Linked DNA regions of Homo sapiens: regions 2 and 3 are each linked to region 1. The links are contacts of gene promoters, found by promoter capture Hi-C in blood cells and fetal thymus (Javierre and others, 2016). All regions are on one chromosome and are shown on one strand. Each heading gives the region's core, a stretch centred on a gene start or on the middle of the fragment in contact. The rest is flanking DNA. Distances are from core to core; before and after follow the strand shown. Region 1 holds the start of SMARCA5 (SNF2 related chromatin remodeling ATPase 5). Region 2 overlaps TMEM184C (transmembrane protein 184C). Region 3 holds the start of NOCT (nocturnin).

Region 1 (3,855 bases), core at 904-3,403:
GTTTTTTTTGGTAAGAACATGGCAGAGCAAGATGGGTGGGAAACGGCTCACTTTTAAAGGCAGATCCGAGTTTTATTACAGGTTCTACCTAGTAGAACTCAATTTCCCCATCTGGCAAATGAAAATATCACTAATTTAATACGGTAGTGATAACATCTATACTCACGTTTGAACTTAAAATCAATTTTCATTTAAAATAGCAACTTCAAGTCAAAAATGTTGACTTGCTTTAGGCTTAAAATTACTCTGCATTCAGATATTAATAAGACCTCTGGTGAAACATTCATTTTTCCAAAGTTTGGATGGCAGACCCCTTTGAGAAGCTGAGGAAAAACTATAAACAATTTTTGTAGAGAACTGCACATTTACACATAATTGCTTTGTGTCAAACCCCTTAAGCCTTGGAACAGAAATCCAAGTTAAAGAGCCCTAGTAACCCAAAAGAACCATTTCCTTAAGGAAAAAAAAGCAACACTGAATATATTTTAATTTGGAAGTAATCTTATCTTAATCACTCAAAACTACAGGAACTATCAGGAGTTCCTATGTCACTAAACCTACCCTCACCACTAAAAGTTCTTTAAATGATTACTAACATTAATGTTACTTAACCCCAGCTACCCAAATATAACTACTGTGCCAAAAGCCTCAATGGTAAATTACGCTACCATTTTCTTACTGTATAATGATTCTGCATCAAGACTCATCTTCGGAGCAGTATTACTTTCATTCTGTCTAAGGATAGGAAAATCCCAGAAATCTTTGGGCTCCGACTCACAAAATATCTCAAAACAGGTCGAAGGCCAAGAAAATAAAAATTGGAAGGAGCAATTACTTTGTTCCCAGATGCAAAGCCTGGAAGCATATCCAATTTACCCGCCTGGCAGCTTCCCCCATCTTTCCAGCCCCCTCAGTACTGTCAGCATCCCCTGCCCAACCCAAACCCATAAGTCTCGGCAGCGAGTGGTACTAATTTTTTTTTTTCTTAAGGCCAGAGGCCAAAAAGAGAAAAGTGCCGGACTGAGAGCCAACCAACTGCGCCTGGTTCTCTAATTCATTCCTACACTTATTCATCCCCCCTAAATTAGACGGGGGATCCGAGACAGCTGCTGCTGCCTTGGTTGCTTCCCTTCCAGTGGAATAGTGCCTGGGAGGGGCCTTCTCTCCCTTCACAGAAGCAGCTGCGCCCCGCTTATCCCCACTGCGCACTCGGCCATCCAGCTCTCGCCATTGTTTCTGCCCACAACAGATACCGCCCCTGCAAGGACCGGGAAGAAGAAAAGGAGGCCCAAGTCCTCGGACGCGCTGCTTTTAAATGCCTCCTTCACCCCGCCCGTGCATCCCGCTCCTAAGGGGTCATCTCCTCGCCCTTCCCCGAAGTTTGGTGGAAACTAAAAACCACATTCAGAGGTAGGAGAGGGAATTATGGGAGTCTAGTGGGAAAAAAACGATGGGTCCCCCGGGCCACGGTAACCAAGAACATCTGTTCACTGAGAGCGTTCAAATATTTGTCAGGATTCACGAAAGAGACAAATAATTTAAATGTGAGGAGCCAGAAATCCATTTTGCTTAGCTCGAATAGGGTAAGAACAAGGGAGCAAGAGTGAGAGCATCATTTCGTATCCACAGGGTGTGAAGCTGAGTCTGGTGCAGAGAGAGAAACCCGGCTCTGCGTCCGATCGCCACGATCCGGCGAGGGAGCCAGCTCCTCCTCCCCGCTGCACCCGCTCCCCATGCCGCAAGTCGCCCTCACCTCCATCTCGGCGTCTGCGGGACCAGCGCTGGCCGCAGACGCAACCGCCTGCGCCGCGACGCCTTCGGGGCCGCCTTTGTTGCTGCTGTTGCTCCCGCCGCTGGCGATCGAGGCTGCGGGCTTGGAAGGCGCGCTCTCGGGAGGCGGGGGTGGCGGAGGCTCGGCCGCGGACGACATGATGTTCCGTCTGCGTCACCCGCTGCTGCCAGAGGCCCGAGTCCGGCGGGGATGGACGGGGAGGCCTAGGCCTGGATGCTACGTCGCAATAAACTGGTGGAGGAGCGAGACTCCCACCCGAGCGCTCCCCTGCGCCGCGCCTCCGCGACGGGCCTGAGCCGGGCCCAGGAGCTGCACACTCCCAAACGTTCTGCTCTTCCGCGGGGCTCTAGGTTCCACCGGCGCTTACCTCACGGCGGGAATCACGTCGACGAGGGTGGGCGGGGCCAGACGGGTCACTGAGGTCAAGGAAGGCCGGCTGATTTAGAGAAGGGCGGAGGGTTGGGGGAAGGGAAAAGGAAAACGAAAGAGAGACTGAGGCTGGGAAAACGCTTCGCCGCCTCCTCCTCTTCCTCTGGAAGATAACATCTATCTCGCCAGCATCCAGGACGACGACCTACGCCACCGACTTTCAACACTCGCGAGATTCCTTATTGGCTCACTGACTGGGTCCTGAGCGCGCATGCGCATACTGCCCTCCTCACCCTTGGCCCGCCCTCTTCCAGATCTCTAGCCGGCTCGGGAGAGAAGAGTGGGCGGGACCTCCAGGGAGCGCTCGGAGGTGTAGGTTTGTGCGCCTGCTGCTTGGCAGGACGCGAGCTCAGTGTTTTAGGCTTTCGTAACGGCTCACGGTTCTCGCTGTGTCTTCTGTGCCTGACAGGGGTTGGCGGCACTACCGGAAAACTTGTCTGGGTTTTGCGCTGCCCATTCAAACTTGGAAGTCTTGTGTCTGGCCCCAAAACTTCTGCCGTATCCGCTTAGAGGCGTGACGCCACAGCCTTGACGACGTTATGGTTACCCCAAGTGAAGTCTCACGGTTTTTTGTTGTTAGAAAAAAAAAAAAAGTCCGTTAGTGTGATTTTTTTCTTTTTTCTTTTTTTTTTTTTTTGCCTTCTCATGTTAGCTGCGTCGGTTATTTCTAAATACCCTCCTTAGGCACAGAGTTAAATGATATTTCTTCTGAATTTATATGCCAAAGTTAAGCAAATAACGTGCACACTACCATGGAAGTGAGAAACACGAATAATCAATATATGGGGAAGATAGGTGGTGCGATGTAATCTTTTCCCCAAGCATCAAACATGAAAATTAAAACGTACATTCTCCTTAAGTGTTAACAAATATTCAGCACTGATTTTGTATACTGCCTTAGGCAGCCTTCAATGCAGCTTAAGGGCCTTGTGCATTCATCGCCTACAAAATTTAAATACATTGTAGTCTGTTTGATAACGAATCTGCATACTACAGTAGATTACCTGCCCAGTACAGGGTCTTTTTTATCTTTTTTTATTCCTCATATTCAGTATTCTCTAAATGTTTGTTGAGTAAAGGAGACACATTTTTCGAGAGTTGAGGTTTGAGCTAACTGGTTATGTTGAATTCCAAACAGAAGGGATCCCCTTTGAATATATAGCCTGCAAATTTTTTAACTAATGGAATGATAATTCTTAAATGGACATCTGGAAAAATGTCCCCACTCCACTAGAAATGCTAGTTCTTAGACTATAAGGAAATGTCTAAGGATATATGCAAAGATGAATACCTACAATGATGTTCATCATAGTCTTCATATATGACTGCAAAAAGCTAACAACAGTAGGCTGAATCCAGTATTAAAAGTTAGGTGTTTAAAACTGTCATACACCCAGAAAATGAACTATTAACCTTTAACAACCATTAATGTAGAATAATGGTTGTTTTGTGTTGTTTTGTTTTCAGACAGTTTCTGTCGCCCAGGCTGCAGTGCGGTGGCATGATCTCAGCTCACTGCAATCTCCAACTCCCAGGTTCAAAGGATTCTCATGACTTAGCCTCCGGAGTAGCTGGAATTACAGGCGTGCACCACCACGCCTGGCTAATTTTTGTATTTTCAGTAGAGACAGGGT
Region 2 (3,971 bases), core at 269-2,768, 4.1 Mb before region 1:
TTTTAGATTAACAAGCTTTCATAGTTTACTATAGATGAATATATACTACATACAACATCTTCCGTAAAAATGTTTTTAAGTGTTCACTTCCTGGGTTCCATAAAGGGAACAATAAACAAATGATTGACATAAATGGAAGAAATGGCTCTTGTTCAGCCAAAATAAAAAAATCCATCTGTAACGGCTTTTAAACATAAATTTCTGACCACTCATTTTATGAGGCTTTAGCTTATTACCTAGTCTATCCTATGTAACTAAAGTAACCCATTAAACAAGTACAATTTCAATAAAATTGTGACTATGAAATCTGAATGTAAAGAATCAAACAATTTTTCCTGAGAGCGGTGTATTAGTTCAGCTAGATTTATTTTTTAAAATGAACAAGACTTACTAACTTTTTAGAAATCTGTAATAACCTAGTGTAGTGCTGAATAACAATAAACATTTTCCTGAAAGTTCACTATTCCCTATTAAAATCATATAAAATGCAAATTCAAAGTATTTTAGAATATGAAACCAGTAAAGAAAGAAAGAATAAAGTGATTCATGGTGTCCAATCATCCTTTTTACACATAAGCCAGTTTTTAAATAACTGTCATGAACTAATTATAAAATTTTATTGCCTAATGTTTTTTCCACTTAAAATACATAACTTCTATATGTTTCATCAGGCTTATTTTTAGTAACTGCCTAATATTTTGGCCAATGGAAAGACCACAGTGCATTCAACTAGTCCCTAACATTGGGTTTTGGATTGCTTTCAGCCTTTTGTTATTTACAAGTAATGGGCTTTATATACAAAGATACTTTAGGCAAACATACTTTTGAACACTTCTTTAGAATACATTCCCAGAAACAGAATTACTGGTTCCAAAGAGGATGAACATGTGGGAAAACTTTAGCTACATGGACATTTAATTTTTATTATAAAGCTCTAATACCAACCATGCATACCACTGCATCTAAATTATTTTGCTGACAGCATTAGTCAAAGAATTTAAATAAAATGCACATTTTTTTAAGCTTGTAAGATCAAATAGGACATTACATCATAGGTCTTTGGAACATACAGTTTCTAGAACATCATCCATTTTTTTAAACTTGGCATTCTCAATTTTCCTTTAACTTCAAATATATGATAACAGAGAATTTTATTCTCACATTTTTATTCAAACCCTGTACCATCAAATACCAATTTGATATTTTCTCTTCTGAATATGTTCAGTATATGTGGGCGTGTGTGTGTATTTTTTTTTTTATGTAGCACTGTGCTTTTATTTATGACATACTCATACAGCTATGCAATGAGCAACAGAAATAAATGAACAAACATGGTCAACATGTGAGGGTATAAGTTGCCAAATAATAAACAAAGATGTTATTATATCTTTATATATGTATTAAGATATATATTAAATTTTTTTCAAGTCTTTCTATAAATTAAATTTCAGATTTAATTTATAGGAAGATTAAAAAGAAGCAAGCCTTATCCTAAGAAGAAACTTTGTCTAAAGAAATTTAGTTATAGATACGAATTTAGTACAGTTTAAGAAAAGTGAACATTTTACTTACCAACTGTGACATGTTGTTTATTATAACCAAATAAGTCCAAGCATTTGAAAAGCTAAAGTTCCCTTCGTCATATATACCAAGCAGCTCACAGATTCTAAAAATAGTAAAAATGAGATATCTCTGATTAAATCAAAATCGTACTTCAAAATACAGCAATAGCAATACTTAAATTTAGAAGTCAGTTTATTTGAGATCTCACTGACAATCACTTGACTTTGGACACAGAGAATTTAGAAGTCAGTTTATTTGAGAGATCCATTGACAATCACTTGACTTTGGATCTAGAGGTGGTTCAAAAATGAAAAACCCATTTTTTTCTAGAAATATTACTATATTCCTTCAACTTGAAGGAAATCCCAAATAAGACACATAACACTTAACTAGAAAGAGTACTAAATTTAAAAAAAAACAACTATGCTGTCTAATTTTGGGAAAGCTTGATTGTTAAACATAATATAATGCAGGTGTATATAACTGTAGTTGTTAATTTTTTCCCCTCAATTGTCTTGGAGGTAAATTTTATGAAGACCCAGATCCCCTCAAGTAAGTATGACCATCAGTATTGTTATAATCTTACCCAATTTCTAAGCTGCAGGGAAATAAAGCATGCCTTCATAATTAAATGGCTAAATAATTGCTAGCTCAAAGGCAGAATAAAGAATTCTTTCACAAGTCTTTCTTTCCACTTTTCCTCTGTGAGCATGCAAAATGTTAGTAACAACTAGGAGATAAAACATGTAATCTATTGGCATTAAAGTATTTGATGTTCTTGAATTTTTAGGGAATAGTTTTGCCAGGTAGCTTAATGATACCCCATTTTACCTCAATTCTAAGCCTTGATAGAATATATTAAAAGAAAATATGACTTCTTTCTTAGAGTACTTCTAATATATTCTAAATTAACTATGTAGAAAATAGAACTGTAATTAACCTAAAGTAGCATACTTTAACTTCATGCAATAGGGTTTCTGTCAAGCTATGTATCTGAAAAAGAAGGTATTTTTTTTTCAAAGTGCTTTACGGCCAGCTAGCTCTGGAGAGGATGTGAATATTTAGGAGACCCCTGTGGTGACTCTTTGCCTATAAATGGTCATGTTATTTATTTTAATAGAGTGAGTTTCTATACAGTGTTTTTTTTTACAACAGACTAGACCTGCATTATAAATAAGCACATTAACACTATGTTTTCTACTTAGTTGTTCCCACATAAGATCACAAGGATGAAAAAAAAAGTTCATATAAAATCCGAGTACTTACAAAGCAACGATGGTGGTGAAAGGTCTGACAACTGTGTACTGTAATACACCTAGTTTGCACCTAAACAGCAATACTCTGCAAAAGAAAAAGAACTTAGAATTTCAACTACTCATTTAAATAGCATCAGATTTTCCCCAAAGCCTCCAAATTAAAATCACTTTGATGAATGATACCATATTTACAGTTAATTCTTTCAATGTAGTCATCCTTAATAGCAGTGGCAGAAGAATGTGGATGGCAGGAAACAAATTATCTAAATACCTTTTTTATTTTTTGAGATATAGGATCTTATTCTGTTGCCCAGGGTGGAGTGCAGTGGTGTGAACATGGCTTACTGCAGCCTTGACCTTCTGTGCTCAAGTGATCCTCCCACCTCAGCCTCCTGAGTAGCTGGAACTATATCTGCATACCACCACACCTGGCTAATTTATTTTCTGTAGACATGGGGTCTCACTATGTTGCCCAGGCTACTCTTGACCTCCTGGGCTCAAGTAATCCTCCCACCTCAGCCTCCTGAGTAGCTGGAACTGTATCTGCATACCACCACACCTGGCTAATTTATTTTCTGTAGACATGGGGTCTCACTATGTTGCCCAGGCTACTCTTGACCTCCTGGGCTCAAGTGATCCTCCCACCTCAGCCTCCTGAGTAGCTGGAACTATATCTGCATACCACCACACCTGGCTAATTTATTTTCTATAGACATGGGAGTCTCACTATGTTGCCCAGGCTACTCTTGACCTCCTGGGCTCAAGTGATCCTCCTGAGTAGCTGGGACTGTAGGTGTGTGCCCCCACACCCAGCTATTTTTAAATTTTCTGTAGAGATGTGGTTTCACTGTGTTGCCCAGGCTAGTCTCAAACTCCTGGGCTCAAGCCATCCTCACGCCTGTAATCCCAGCACTGTGGGAGGCCGAGGCAGGTGGATCACTTGAGAGCAGCCTGGCCAACATGGCAAAACTCTGTCTCTACAAAAAAAATAACAAAATTTAGCCGGGCACGCCTGTAATCCCAGCTACTTGGGAGGCTGAGGCATGAGAATTGCTTGAATATGGGAGGTGGAGGTTGCAATGAGCTGAGATCACGCCACTGTATTCTAGCCTGGGTGACAGAGCAAGACCATCTCAAAAAAAAAACACAGTA
Region 3 (3,847 bases), core at 249-2,748, 4.5 Mb after region 1:
TCCAGCCTGGGAAATAAGAGCAAAACTCCGTCTCAAAAAAAAAAAAAAAAAAAGTTATGTATTGCCTAGTTTTGAAAGAAAAAATTTATCAATTTTTAAAGTATAATTAATTTGTATGTAATTTGTGGCCATGGTAATGTGTGCCCAGGCAGAAACAGAGGTAGCAAAAAAGGAAAACTCAGGGTAGTTATTATGATGTATGAAAACAGCTCTTGGTGAAACTAAGGCCTCACTTTTACAAGATCTTAGATACACAGGACAAAAAATGATGTTAACTATAAAGAGTGGAAGCCTCCAAAAAAAAAAAATCCAAAGAAACGTAAAATGGCCGAGCGCGGTGGCTCACGCCTGTGATCCCAGCACTCTGGGAGGCTGAGGCGGGTGGATCACGAGGTCAGGAGTTCAAGACCAGCCTGGCCAAAATGGTGAAACCCCCGTCTCTACTAAATATACAAAAGTTAGCTAGGCGTGGTGACTGGCGCCTGTAATCCCAGCTACTCGGGAGGCTGAGGCAGGAGAATCGCTTGAACCCGGGAGCGGGAGGTTGCGGTAAGCCGATATCGTGCCACTGGACTCCAGCCTGGGTGACACAGTGAGACTCCATCTCAAAAAAAAAAAAAAAAAAAAAAAAAAAAAACAACGTAAAACGAATCAATGTGTTATTATCACGACTTAAAAAAAAAACTTAATATCTAGACCATGAAAGCTATATAAGCAAATAAGCATCATTTAGATTTTTTTTTCCATAAAAATTTCCGTTAAGTCGTGCAATAAAAAATGTAACCAACATAGTAACTCGCGGCCTCGGAAGGGGGAAATTTAACGGTCAAGAACAAGAAATTCTGAAAGCATGGCCTCTAAGGGTCAAGCGGGAACCTGAATACAGTCTCCCAGTTCTTACTAGCTTTGATGCAAGCCCCAGGCAAGTCGGGGAACAGGGAAAGAGGAAAAAGGGAACGCAGAAGGTTGCTCCGGTAAAGGACCCACTTTCAGGCCAGACTCCACGACCGGCAGCCCCGGGCTTCTCATTCATTCCGCGCGGTCTCCAGGTGGCGGCCGCGCGTTGGCGGCCGTGGCGTTCTCCGCCCGGAACTGGGGTGCACTCACCTGTTCGGGAACACGACCTCGCGGCGCCCGAGGCCGCCGAGGCCGCCGCCAGCAGCCGGGGGGATGCGGGCCTGGGAACAGCAGCCGGCGGGGACAACGGGCGGCGCAGCCCTGGGGCGGGCAGGCGGCGCAGGCCGGGCGCGTCCCTCTGCAGCAGGGCCGAGCAGAGCCGCCGCGGACTATGAAACATGCCGGGCGCCGCCGCCACCACGGCCCCTCGCGCGCCCGAGGAGCGGAGCCCGGCTGGGGCCGAGGGCACCGAGTCGAGCCGACTGTCCGGGCAGTGTGGGCGGATGCTCCCAGGCTCCTTCTCGCGCGGCGCAGGTTCTGGGGAAATCCCGGGCAGCAGAGCCGGAGAGGGAGGTGCAACACCGCTGCGTCGGCACCGTCTGCTGTGAGACCTGGCGAGACCTGCAGGGCGCCCGGCGAGCGCTGCGCGCTGACAAAGCGGGCGCTACCAAGCGGGAGCTGGAGGGGAATCCGCGGGACCCGGCCACTGCGCGGCCACGCCAGGCTCCCTCGACCCGGCGTAATCCTGTTTTAAAAGGAAGCGGGGCTTAGGCTGATTTATAGATAGAATCCGCAGGCGGTCTAAAATAAGAGGTATCCGTTGGAGCTGTTCTGAAGAAAAAAGCGTCCCCTTCCGCTGGCCAGCATGGAAGCGCCCACAGGCTGGGAATCCCGAGACAGTTCCAGGGCTGTGGCCCAGGGGACACGTGTCTGTCAGAGTGGCAGACGGCCTACGTGTGTGCCTGCGCGGGTCTGTGTGGATACAGCAAAAGGCGTCCGCCTCCGACCCCCTCGGCAGTGTGTGATGCGTTAAACGATATTAAGCACAATAAAGCACCGCCTGTGGGCGAGGCGACGATGATTAAAACAGCGTTCTTTTCCTCAAAAGTGTTATACTTAGGCAAAGGGAGCAGAAGGTGGCAAGGGAAGTCAGACCAGAAAGCTCTACAAGGTAGAATGAGATTATTGCCACAAGATGCCAAAGATTGGCTATAGAGATGACAACAGGCCCGGGCTCTCTAGAAGGTTCATTAGAAGGATTGGCATTTGAGTTGGCCTATGACGTGGAGGTCTAGAATTTACCCACGTGAAACTTTGGAGGGGGTGGTGGTGAGTTATAAATGAAAAAAGTAAATAAGGGTGTATTTGGGGAAACAACTCTTAGTCATGTAAGATGGAAGCTAAGGAGTAAGAGGACAGATGCGTGGATAGGTTGTAGTGTGGAAGGAAGGGGATTATAGTAGGCTTAATTCGGTGGATAGCTGCGAGCCGTTGACGTTTTGTAAGCTGAGCAAAGACATGGTCAGGGCTGTGCTTTAATTGGAAATCACATGTCTCTGGTTCATGAAAAGGCAGAAAGGAAATCAGCTGAGATAACAGATACTGTAGACCCGCACCAGGTTACTGTTACTGGAAAAGAAAGGATGGAAGAAACATCTCAGACAGGCTGGGCAGGAAATGATGACTAATCAGGAATAGAAATGGGATGAGGGGGAGGGAAAACCCAAGACTGGATTTTTCTCTGAATGATTCATGAGTTAGAAATGTATTCTATTGGTTTTCCCATGATTTTGCTGATTCCCCTGTGTTGTGGAATTGCAAGCTTTTCATCACAAGAATATTCTAAATATTTTTCAGACCTAGGTTACATATCTAACACCTGTGGATAGAGGGTGTGGACAGATCAGCTGGCACAAGTTGATTACAACTTCTGGCAGACAAGCTCCTTGGAAGTCATTAAAGCCTCAGTTTCAGTTTCCTTATCTATAAAACATAGAATCATACCTTAGTCATTAGGTGAAATAAAAAATGATAATAAGCTACTCTGGGCACACTGTCTATCGAGTAGTCCTGCTCCACAAGGAGCAGTACTTGTAAAAAGAATTTTTTTAAAAAGGTGATAATAAAATTAGCCTATGAAAAGTGTTTTGCAAATATAGCAAAATGTTGATTTTGAATCTAGGTAGTGGGTATATATGGGTATAGGGACCATGGGAAAAATGTTCCCTTTGCCCTCTGAAGTTTGCTGAAAAATCAACTCACAAAAGGCAGATTAATGGGAGAAAAGGCATATGCATTTATTAACATGTACATGGGGAGAATCACAGAGTGATTACACACCCCCAACGGGGTTCAGAAGCTTGTCTACCATCCTGGCCAACAGACTTGGGGAGAGGGGAGCAGAGGCATTCTGTTGAGGAGATGACTAGGGAAAGTGAATGGATCAGGGCACAGGGATGAACTTGCACATTATCTTGTGAAAGGGTCTGTTCAGGTGGTTACATTTTTGGTCTTACAAGGAGGGGAAGAAAAAACAATTGTTCCTTTTGGTGGGTTCGGATTGTAGCCAGATAAAGGAACTTCAACTTCATCCTGTGCTTTGGGAGAGATGGTGCTGGGCAGTGAGGTCAGAGAGACCTTGAGGCTTCCATTCAGCCGGTCAAAGCCCCATATTTTGGGCTATCAGTTTCTGAGTCCCGACACAAGTGTTCACTTACAATTATTTTTCCCCCATATATTTGGAGATTTTCATAATAAAATGTTGGGGAAAAGTGCTTTGAAAAATGAAAAAATAACTGTTCAAATATAAACTGTCACTATTTAAAGAGATTCAAAGAGCATGCTATCCTGAAAGTGCATCATATTATTTATTTTTTTTTTATTTATTTATTTGAGATGGAGTCTGTCGCTCTGTTGCCCAGGCTGGAGTACAGTGGCGTCATCTTGGCTC

What was found. Contacts are between HindIII fragments. The CHiCAGO score rates a contact against its expected background, and 5 or more counts as called.
Region 2: a contact is called between a fragment that was not itself captured here and the fragment with the promoter of SMARCA5 in region 1, in 1 of 17 cell types (neutrophils). The highest score is 6.2, in neutrophils.
Region 3: a contact is called between the fragment with the promoter of NOCT here and the fragment with the promoter of SMARCA5 in region 1, in 1 of 17 cell types (activated CD4 T cells). The highest score is 8.0, in activated CD4 T cells.

The regions. Positions count from the first base shown.
Region 1 is chr4:143,512,000-143,515,854 of GRCh38, reverse strand. SMARCA5 (SNF2 related chromatin remodeling ATPase 5) reads right to left here and starts at 2,153. Exons shown (of 24, transcript NM_003601.4): 1 at 1,754-2,153. The coding sequence starts at 1,930. SMARCA5-AS1 (SMARCA5 antisense RNA 1) reads left to right here and starts at 1,018. Exons shown (of 2, transcript NR_104027.1): 1 at 1,018-1,410; 2 at 1,630-2,383. RefSeq lists enhancers at 1,533-1,652, 1,713-1,772, 2,063-2,432, 2,463-2,532, 2,563-2,652 and 1 more. The HindIII fragment of the contact is 18,533 bases long and covers 1-3,855 here.
Region 2 is chr4:147,627,294-147,631,264 of GRCh38, reverse strand. TMEM184C (transmembrane protein 184C) reads right to left here. Exons shown (of 10, transcript NM_018241.3): 5 at 2,830-2,904; 6 at 1,573-1,666. Among named protein-coding and RNA genes, the nearest start is that of TMEM184C, 12 kb to the right of the region's middle. The HindIII fragment of the contact is 985 bases long and covers 1,026-2,010 here.
Region 3 is chr4:139,013,432-139,017,278 of GRCh38, reverse strand. It overlaps NOCT (nocturnin), which reads right to left and starts at 1,498. Exons shown (of 3, transcript NM_012118.4): 1 at 1,108-1,498. The coding sequence starts at 1,297. RefSeq lists a silencer at 1,059-1,358 and enhancers at 1,499-1,848, 1,881-2,802, 1,939-3,138. The HindIII fragment of the contact is 5,482 bases long and covers 1-2,721 here.